Linked DNA regions of Homo sapiens: all the other regions are linked to region 2. The links are contacts of gene promoters, found by promoter capture Hi-C in human tissues and cell types (Jung and others, 2019). All regions are on one chromosome and are shown on one strand. The core of a region is centred on a gene start or on the middle of the fragment in contact, and the rest is flanking DNA. Distances in the headings are between cores, read along the strand shown.

Region 1 (3,288 bases), core at 144-2,643, 520 kb before region 2:
TCAATTGGAAAGATAAAATACTTTGGGGATGGTGATGGCGATGGTTGCATAGCAATGTCAAACCACTTCACAATACTGCACTGTAGAGTTAGAAAGAGTAAATATGGTAAATTTTATTTCATTTGTTTTTTTTTTTACTATAATTTAAAATGAGAAAGAGTAGTAAAAACACACAAAAGAGAGGAGCTAACAGATAAAAAGTGCACTAAGTTAGCCAAGCCAGAGCTTTAAGAACCATTATCACTTCTCTCTCTCTTTCACCCCACAATCAACATTAATCAGGTCCAACCATGTGTTCTGCCTTCTTAGCACTGCTCACGTGTGTCCCCTCCTCTCTTATTTCCATGCACTCTGGCCCAGCTGGGCTTCTTCTCTCTTTGCCTGTGATTTGCTCTGTTGTCCTCCCTGGCTCAGACGTGCAGTCCCAGTCTCTCCTGATGCTTTGTCCCCACATTGAGGGCACTGCTGTTTCCCCACAGGCCACTCCTTTTTTTTTTTTTTTCTTGAGACAGAGTCTTACTCTGTCACCTAGGCTGGAGTGCAATGGCACGATCTCGGCTCACTGCAACCTCCACCTCCCAGGTTCAAGTGATTCTCCTGCCTCAGCCTCCTGAGTAGCTGGGATTACAGGTATACACCACCACACCCAGATAATTTTTTGTATTTTTTTTAGAGACAGGGTTTCACTGTGTTGGCCAGGCTGGTCTCGAACTCCTAACCTCGTAATCCTCCCACCTCAGCCTCCCAAAGTGCTGAACTCCTAATACACCCTCTGTCCTTTCCCACCTTGTCTGTGCCCTGGAGGCTGACTCTATGGATTGCATCATCAGTGTCTCCTTGCCTTTAGCGTCTGATTGAGTTCAACCATGGAGGCACTGTCAGGAGAGCAGAGGGTGAGAGGAGAGAGAGGCCGGGGAATCAATTCCCACACATATGCCCTGCCAGGCTGTGGTTTGTCAGCAACTGTGCTCCTCTACCCATGACATCAGCTCCCGCAAGGCACCTCCCATCTCCCACACAGGGCTCTCTCCACCCCTTGACCTCCCATCCTGGGAGTGGCAGTGGCTTCCTGGGGTGCTTCATCCCTCTCATTTGCCCACACCTTTATACACTTCTTTTTCTTTTTTCTTTTCTTTTTTTTTTTTTTTTTTTGACGGAGTCTCACTCTGTCACCAGGCTGGAGGGCAGTGGCACCATCTCAGCTCACTGCAAGCTCTGCCTCCCAGGTTCACGCCATTCTCCTGCCTCAGCCTCCAAAGTAGCTGGGATTACAGGCGCCCGGCTAATTTTTTGTATTTTTAGTAGAGACAGGGTTTCACCATGTTAGCCAGGATGGTTTTGATCTCCTGACCTTGTGATCCACCCGCCTGGGCCTCCCAAAGTGCTGGGATTACAGGCGTGAGCCACCGCGCCCGGCCTATACACTGCTTTTTCTATTTCCATTTTTATTTTAGAATTGGGGGTACATGTGTAGGTTTGTTACCAAGGAATATTGTGTGGCATTGAGGTTTGGAGTAAGACTGAGCCCCTCACCCAGGTAGGGAGCATGGTACCCAACAGGTAGTTTTTCAGCCCCATCCCCCTCCTCTCCACCCTCAGTGGTCCCCAGCGTCTACTGTTGCCATCTTTATGGGAAGATGTGTACCTAATATTTAGCTCCCACTTATAAGTGAGAATATGTGGTATTTGGTGTTCAGTTTCTACATTAGTTTACGTAAGATAATGGCCTCCAGCTGCATCCATGTTGCTGCAAAGGACATGAGTTCATTCTTTTTTATGGCTGTGTAGTCTTCCATGGTGTATATGGACCACATTTTCTTTATTTGGTTCACTGTTGATGGGCAACGAGGTTGATTCCATGTCTTTTCTATTGTCAATAGTGCTGCAATGATCATCCAAGTGTGTGTGTTCTTGACTAGAATGATTTATTTTCCCTGGATATATACCCAGTAATAGGACTCCTGGGTCAAATGGTAGTTCCATTCCTAGTTATTTGAGATATCCTCAAACTGCTCTCCACGGCGACTGTTAGTCCTAGCTCTTTGAGAAGCCAAGGTGGGAGGATTGCTTGAGGCCAGGAGTTTGGGGCCATTCGATTCTCTAACTACTACCCCTGCTGTATAGAAATGTCATTGATATGGATTTGTTTTTATTTTCTTATAAATCCTAATGGACTTTGAATTTTCTATTTAGAGAATCTTACTACCTACAAGTAATGAAAAAATCTCTCTAGCCCTCATATATCTTATTTTTAGTTTTTTACTTTTACTGATATTATTACATCAGTTAGGACACCTCAGTAGAAAATGGAATAAAAGTGGAAAGACCATTAAGCCTCGTTTTGTTCATATTTTAGTGGAAATTGATCTAAGCTTCATCATTAAATATAATATTTGCTATTGATTTGTTGCTGGGCATCCTTTAACATGTTTATGATGTTTCATTCTATTCCTAATTCATTAAGATTTTTTAAACCATAAATAAGTGCAGATTATAGTAATATTGAGCAAATATTTTCTTCTCACCTCCAATGGGCCACCCTCTAGACCCCCTACCCTCACCCTCATCTCCCCTACCTCACCGCGGGTCTCTGTCCTCAGACCCCTGCTGCAGGGGACCCCTGGAGGTGACATATGCTCAGCTGGACCACCAGGCCTTCACTTGGAGGACAGCCCAGGCTGTGTCCCCAGAGTCCATGGTGCCCATGGCTGAGTCTAGCATGTACACAGCCCTCGCCAGGCACTGACTCCGGGACCACTGCCCCCTGCGCCTGAGGAAGTCATGCTTGGAAAAGCCTCAAGAAGCCATCTGGAGGGCTTCCCCTTGGAATCATCCTGGTCTGCAAAACCAGTCAACTGTTCTGGAGATAAGAGGTAGAGCCCAAAGTTCTCTAGTCAGCATCTAGAAAGTTCATTAACCAGGTGATTCCTTCCACAACTGACCAGCACCTCAAAGAGGTGGCATTGCAGCTACTTCTAGAAACCCAGCTGCAATCACCTGGCTGTTTCCAGACACCTAGTTCCAGTCACCTGGTTGTTTCCAGTGATCCAGCTGCTGTCACTTCTCTGTTTCAAGACACCCAGCTCCAGTCTCCTGGCTGTTTGCTGAGTCTCAGCTATAGCCATCCCAGCTGATTCCATTAACAATGTTGCATCCCCCTGCAGTTTCCAAATGTCTTCTGTAAATCCCCCCAGCTGCCCCAGCAATCGTCTACTCAGCTGATCCTGAACATTCTCCTAGAGTTTAGTTGTTGACCTTGAGAATGAGCTATACATATGGATCTGAGAG
Region 2 (3,326 bases), core at 49-2,548:
CTCTAGGGAGGGGGAGGAGACCAGCGGTCAGAATGCCTGGGTCCTAGCAACAGACCTTGCAGCCCCATCTTCTCCGGTTCCTCCAGGGCTAGGCTGAAGATCAGCATGTGTCGGGCCACAGCTTCCAGATTATTCTCCAGCACAAAGAACTAGAAGGATGGACAGGGCAGAATAATTCTGAGACCTGTTTGCCTGGGTCCTAGGAGACCCAGGAGAGCAGGCCCTCAGCTCTCTCCTTCCACACACCCGAGTTCTGTACACCAGCCTCTTCCTTCAAACACAGAAGTCTGTGTCCCCAGAGCTCTCTTCCCTTCCATTACTCAGAAGACCTCATCCTCGAGCTCTTCCCCACTATAGAACCCAGGAGTTCCAAACCCCAGCCCCTTCCTTCCCCCAAGACGCATCGGTTCGCTCCCAGCTTCTGCCTCCCTCAGATCTAGGAGTCTCCAGCCCCTTCATTCCTGGACCTGAGGTTTTAGAATTTCAATCCCTTCCTCCCTCAAGGACTCGGGAATCTGGGCTCTCATCTTCATCCCAGCTCACGTTGAACCTCCTGCGAGGCCAGAACTTCGCTCGGGACAGGGTCCGCAGCAGGTGCCGTCCATCCACAGAGCCCAGAAGCAGCACATCTAGCTCGGGGTTGCTGTGCACTGTATCGGCCTGGGAGTCTGGGTCCACAGGAGGACCTGGCAAGATGACAGCTGGCTGGGGCACCATGGTGGTTGGCAGAGCGTCCACCGTAGCATCCCCTATAAAAAATGGACTACAAATCCCAGTAGGCGTTCCGCCCGTGGCCTAGGTTCTAAGGGGAGGTGTTTCCTCTGAGTATTCTGGGATTCGCAGTCCGCAGACAGGACCTCGGGGCTGCCCCTGGGAGCGCGCCCTCTGCCGCTGGAGCGTTGGAGAACGTTAGCGCCCCCCTTGCCACCGACGCTGGGACTACGAGCTCTAAAAGGCCGTCTGCTCAGGCTGGGAAGGCAGACGGTGTATCAGACCTTGCGTGCTGGGACTCACTTTCAGCCTGCAGGTCCAGCGCCGGGGACAGGCCCCACCAGGACACGGAGCCGAAGCCGCTGCCGGAGCCGGCAGGTGTGGTCATCACCCTGCGGAAAAGACATTCTGGGAATCGCACACATTGCCCGCCCCGCTCCCCTCTCACCGCCCCTCACTTCTCGCCCCTTTGCCTCCACATGATACCTTGCCCACACCTTTATCCTCCAAATATCCCGGGACGCCCCTTCCTCTCTGCTCAGTGCAGCACTGTGGACCCGCGGCACTCCACAACCGCTGCCCAGAGTCCCCGCCCTTTTCGAGGAATCAAGCAATGGAAGCATGTGGGATGGGACCACAGCGAGCAACTGACCAATGAGAGTGAGCGAGGCCCGCCCTCTACAAACTTTTGGCCAATGGGAGCACTGAGGGCCAGCCTTCCCCCACACCTAGGAGAAGAGGGCGTGTGGACGCGGTTGTCATGACGACGGCGCCGGCGGGGGAAGGGGCGGTGCTAGAACAGGTTGGGGCGGAGTCAGGGTCGGTCCAAATTTCTGGAATGGGGGAGGCCTGGGCTGATTAAAATTGAGAGTGAAGGGAGCTTAATCTTATTTCTTGTTTTTTGTTTTTTTGTTTTCTTCATATGCCTTTGCTCATACGTAACGGAATTTTCATCAATTCAAATAAAGTGAAGTGTCTAGACTTTAGATGGCAGGCTTCTGAGCCCGCTCCCCGCCCCAGCACAACGTGGGCTCTACCACACAGAACAGCCCACAGGTGGGACACTGATGTGCAGGTCATTAAAAATTCAGGGATTTGTGAGCTGGTTATTGTTACACGAAGCCATAATTTAAACTTACAGCTAGATCCTTTTGTAGTTTCTAAGCGGGATGATTGGGTGTTCACGCGCATGCGTGAGATGTGCCTCCCTCAAACCTTGTTACGACATCGGCACATTACTCTTCTGACATGAACAAAAAAATTACAGGTAAATTCTGTAATCGTACAGTTAAATCAACTGCATTAAAATAAGGGTAAGTCGGCCGGGCGCTGTGGCCACGCCTGTGATCCCAACACTTTGGGAGGTCAAGGTGGGCAGATAACTTGAGGTCAGAAGTTGGAGACCAGTCTGGCCAACATGGTGAAACCGCGCCTCGACCTTAAAAAATACAAAAATTAACCGGGCGTGGTGGCACGCACCTGTAATCCCAGCTACTCCGGAGGCTGAGGCAGGAGAGTCTGTTGAACCTGGGAGGCAGAGGTTGCAGTGAACTGAGATCGCGCCTCTGAACTCCAGCCTGGGCGACAGAGCAAGACTCTGTCTCAAAAAAAAAAAAAAGAAAAACCAAAGTCTGAATGAGGCACATCTCTAGATCACCCCAGCACCCAGCACTGGGCTCAGCGCCCAAGGGGACTTGGCTCTCTGCCTCCTCTCCTTGCCCAGACACATGAGCTTAGACCAGTCACCCTTTCTGAGCCTCAGTCTGCTGCTCTGTGAAATGGGAATGTAGCGTGCAGCGGGCAGAGGTGCAGCGGATCTGCCTCCTGAGGGCAGATCTGGGCACTGGGAAGACAATACCTACTGGGGAAACGAAGGTTGAGACCTCAGACATTCCTGCAGAATCAGGCTGGCTAACCAGCCCCTTCCAGGCCAGCTCTAAGCCTGCAAGAGCCCCAGATCCTGGGTTTCTCTCTGGAGAATTAATGCCTTTCCTCCCTATTTCTCCCACTCTCCCAACAAATTCTCAGCAAAGGAACCAGAGTGACATTTTTTTTTTTTGAGATGGAGTCTTGCTGTGACACCCAGGCTGGAGTGCAGTGGCGCGATCTCGGCTCACTGAAACCTCCGCCTCCCGGGTTCAAGCGATTCTCCTGTCCCAGCCTCCCAGGTAGCTGGGACTACAGGCATTTGCCACCACACCAGCTAATTTTTGTATTTGTATTTTATTTTGTGTATATATATATATATACACACACAAAATAAAATACAAATATATGTATATATATTTATATATACACAAAATAAAATACAAATATTTTGTATATATATACAAAATAAAATACAAATATACATATATATACATATATATATATATATATATAGAGAGAGAGAGAGAGAGAGAGAGAGAGAGAGAGTTTCACTCTTGTTGCCCAGGCTGGAGTGCAATGGCGCGATCTCGGCTCACCGCAACCTCCGCCTCCCGGGTTCAAGCCATTCTTCTGCCTCAGCCTCCCGAGTAGCTGGGATTACAGGCAGGCGCCAGGACGCCCGGCTAATTTTGTATTTTTTGTAGAGACAGGGTTTCTCCGTGTTGGTCAGGCTGGTCTCCAACTCA
Region 3 (3,632 bases), core at 128-2,627, 720 kb before region 2:
TGAAAGGATCAAGCTGCTTCCAAGTAAGGTGACTGCATTCTCAAACAAAGCTCAAGAATATTTATAGGCATACAAAAGTAACGAGTGCTCGACAAGGTAATACTGATATTGTCTAGTATCCAACAACAAAGTCACCAAATATGCAAAAAGCAGGAAAATAGGGCACATCATGAGGATAAAAATCATTCAACTGAAACGGACCCAGGAGTTAGAATTAGTAGGTAAGAACATTAGAACAACTATTATACTGTACTCCATACGTTCCAAAAGTTCTTTACAGATACGGAAGATATAAAAAAACTCAAACTGGATATCAACAGATAGAAATTACAATGTCTGAAATAAATAATGTACTGGCTGGAACAGCAGATTTTTGTTTTTTGGGGGAGAGTCTTGCTCTGTTGCCCAGGCTGTAGTGCAGTGGCATGATCTAGGCTCACTGCAACTTCCACCTCCCAGGTTCAAGCAATTCTCATGCCTCAGCCTCCCAAGTAGCTGAGACTACAGGCACCTGCCACCACATCCAGCTAATTTTTGTATTTTTAGTAGAGACGGGCTTTCACCATGTTGGCCAGGCTGGTCTCAAACTCCTGACCTCAAATGATCTGCCAGCCTCGGCCTCCCAAAGTGCTGGGATTACAGGTGCGAGCCACTGCACCCAGCCCTAGAACAGCAGATTAGACATTGCAGGAAAAAAAAAAAAATCTGGAAGACAACATTAGAAACTGTCCAAATGAAACATTTAAAAAAATGATTTTTTTTTTTTTACTTTTTAGACAGGGTCTCACTCTGTCACCTAGGCTGGAGTGCACTGGCGTGATCATGACTCACTGCAGCCTCAACCTCTCCAGCTCAAGCGATCCTCCCACTTTAGCCTCTCGAGTAGCTGGGACTACAGGCGCACACCACCATGTTTGGCTAATCTTTAAAAATTTTCTGTAGAGATGAGGTCTCACCATGTTGCCCAGGGTGGTCTCAAACTCCTGGGCTCAAGTGATCCTACTGCCTTGGCCTCCCAAAGTGCTGGGATTACAGGCATGAGCCACCATGCCCTGCCCCAGAAGGAATGAATATATTTTTTTTTAATGAAAAGAACACTGGTGAGCTGTGGGACATTTTAATATATGTGTAACTGGAGGCCCATAAGGAGAGAGAAAGAAAGGAACAGAGAGAGTGTTTAAAGAAATAATAACCCCAAATTTCCCAAATTTGATACAAACTATAAAACCAAAGATACAAGAAACTCAACACACCCCAAGCAGAAGAAACACAAAGATAAACCAAGATACATCATAATCAAATTTCTTAAGACCAGTAACAAAGAGAAAATCTTGACAACAGCCAGATGAAAAACAAAAAGATTTTATAAACAGAGGAACAAAAATTAGGATGACACCAGATTTCTCACTGGAAACAATGTGAGAAAGCAGTGTAAGAAAATTCTTAAAGTAGCAAAAGAAAAAAGTAGTCAACCTAGAATTCGATACTCACTGAAACTGTTTTTCAAAAGTGGGCCGGGCACGATGGCTCACGCCTGTAATCCCAGCACTTTGGGAGGCAGAGGCGGGCGGATCACAAGGTCAGGAGATCGAGACCATCCTGGCTAACACAGTGAAACCCCGTCTCTACTAAAAATACAAAAAATTAGCCGGGCGTGGTGGTGGACGCCTGTATTCCCAGCTACTCGGGCGGCTGAGGCAGGAGAATGGCGTGAACCCGGGAGGCGGAGCTTGCAGTGAGCCGAGATCGCGCCACTGCACTCCAGACTGGGCGACAGAGCAAGACTCCCTCTCAAAAAAAAAACCAAAAAAACAAAAGTGAAGACAAGGCCAGGCGCAGTGGCTCACACCTGTAATCCCAGCATTTTGGGAGGCTGAGGCAGGCGTATCACCTGAGGTCAGGAGTTCGAGACCAGCCTGGCCAACATGGTGAAACCCCGTCTCTACCAAAAAATACAAAAATTAGCTGGGTGTGGTGGTGGGCACAGAGCAGAGATAGAACAGTATCATAAGGCTGGGCGTGGTGGCTCACACCTGTAATCCCAGCACTTTGGGAGGCCAAGGCAGGCAGATCCCGAGGTCAGGAGTTTGAGACCAGCCTAGCCAATATAGTGAAACCCTGTCTCTACTAAAAATGCAAAAAGGAGCTGGGTGTGGTGGTGCACGCCTGTAATCCCAGCTACTTGGGAGGCTGAGGCAGTAGAACTGCTTGAACCTGGGAGGAGTAGGCTGCAGTGAGTCGAGACTGTGCCACTGCACTCCAGCCTGCATGACAGTGAGACTCCGTCTAAAAAAAAAAAAAAGGTATCATAAAAAATGCTCAAACTTCCAAACTTCTCTCCACAAATGGTGCTAGAACAACTGGACATCAACATGCCAAAAATAAATAAATCAAATCTATACACAGACCTTAGTCTCTTCACAAAAATTAACTCAAAATGGATCATAGAGCTGAATGTTAAATGCAAATCTATAAAACTCCTAGAAGATAACATAGGAGAAAACCTACATGACTGGGTTTTGTGAATTTTTTTTTTTGAGACAAGAGTCTCACTCTGTCGCCCAGGCTGGAGTGCACTGGCAGAATCTTGGCTCACTGCAACCTCTGCCTCCTGGGTTCAAGTGATTCTCATGCCTCAGCCTCCTGAGTAGCTGGAATTACAGGTGTGCGCCACCACGCCCGGCTAATTTTTGTATTTTTAGTAGAGATGGGGTTTTGCCACGTTGGCCAGGCTGGTCTCAAACTCCTGGCCTCAAGTGATCCACTCACCTCGGCTTCCCAAAATACTGGGATGACAGCTGTGAGCCACCACGCCCAGCCGTGATAATTTTTTTGATACATCAAAGGCATGATCCATGAAAGAAACTTACAAGCTTGACTTTATTAAAATAATAATAAAAAAACCCCTCTGCTAGGCCAGGCGTGGTGGCTCACGCCTGTAATCCCAGCTCTTTGGGAGGCCGAAGCGGGCGGATCATGAGGTCAGGAGATCGAGACCATCCTGGCTAACACGGTGAAGCCCCATCTCTACTAAAAATACAAAAAATTAGCCAGGTGTGGTGGCAGGTGCCTGTAGTCCCAGCTACTCAGGAGGCTGAGGCAGGAGAATGGCGTGAACCCGGGAGGCGGAGCTTGCAGTGAGCCAAGATCACGCCACTGCACTCCAGACTGGGCGACAGAGCGAGACTCCATCTCAAAAAACAAAACAAAACAAAACCCTCTGCTCTTTGAAAAACATTTTTAATATAATGAGAAAAGCTGCAGCCTGGGAGAAACTATTTGCAAGAGACCTATCTCATGAAGGACTGCTATCCAAGATTTACAAAGGGCTCTTAAAACTCAGTTAACAGGAAAACAATCTGATTAAAAAATAGGAAAAGGGGCCAGGCATGGTGGCTTACACCTGTAATCCCAGCACTTTGGGAGGCCAAGACGGGCAGGAATTTGAGACCAGCCTGGCCAATATGGTGAAACCCTGTCTGTACTAAAAATACAAAAATTAGCCAGCATGATGGCACGTGCCTGTAGTCCCAGCTACTCGGGAGGCTGAGGCAGAAGAATTGCTTGAACCCGGGAGGCGGAGGTTGGAGTGAGCCGAGATGGTGCCACTGCACTCCAACCTGGGTGACAGA

The links. Contacts are between HindIII fragments. The study calls those that stand out against the background at their distance.
Region 1: a fragment that was not itself captured here is called in contact with the fragment with the promoter of DNAAF3 in region 2 in 1 of the 25 tissues and cell types used here (lymphoblastoid cells).
Region 3: a fragment that was not itself captured here is called in contact with the fragment with the promoter of DNAAF3 in region 2 in 1 of the 25 tissues and cell types used here (dorsolateral prefrontal cortex).

The regions. Positions count from the first base shown.
Region 1 is chr19:54,649,485-54,652,772 of GRCh38, forward strand. No RefSeq gene overlaps it. Among named protein-coding and RNA genes, the nearest start is that of MIR8061, 5.8 kb to the left of the region's middle. The HindIII fragment of the contact is 4,026 bases long and covers 1-3,288 here.
Region 2 is chr19:55,165,315-55,168,640 of GRCh38, forward strand. It overlaps DNAAF3 (dynein axonemal assembly factor 3), which reads right to left and starts at 1,299. Exons shown (of 12, transcript NM_001256715.2): 1 at 1,209-1,299; 2 at 1,015-1,103; 3 at 544-686; 4 at 56-149. The coding sequence starts at 1,099. DNAAF3-AS1 (DNAAF3 antisense RNA 1) reads left to right here. Exons shown (of 4, transcript XR_007067345.1): 4 at 505-1,590. It overlaps LOC124904795 (small nucleolar RNA U13), which reads left to right and starts at 1,857; the gene lies at 1,857-1,960. RefSeq lists a silencer at 679-910. The HindIII fragment of the contact is 9,836 bases long and covers 1-3,326 here.
Region 3 is chr19:54,441,025-54,444,656 of GRCh38, forward strand. No RefSeq gene overlaps it. Among named protein-coding and RNA genes, the nearest start is that of LENG8-AS1, 6.2 kb to the right of the region's middle. The HindIII fragment of the contact is 7,065 bases long and covers 1-3,632 here.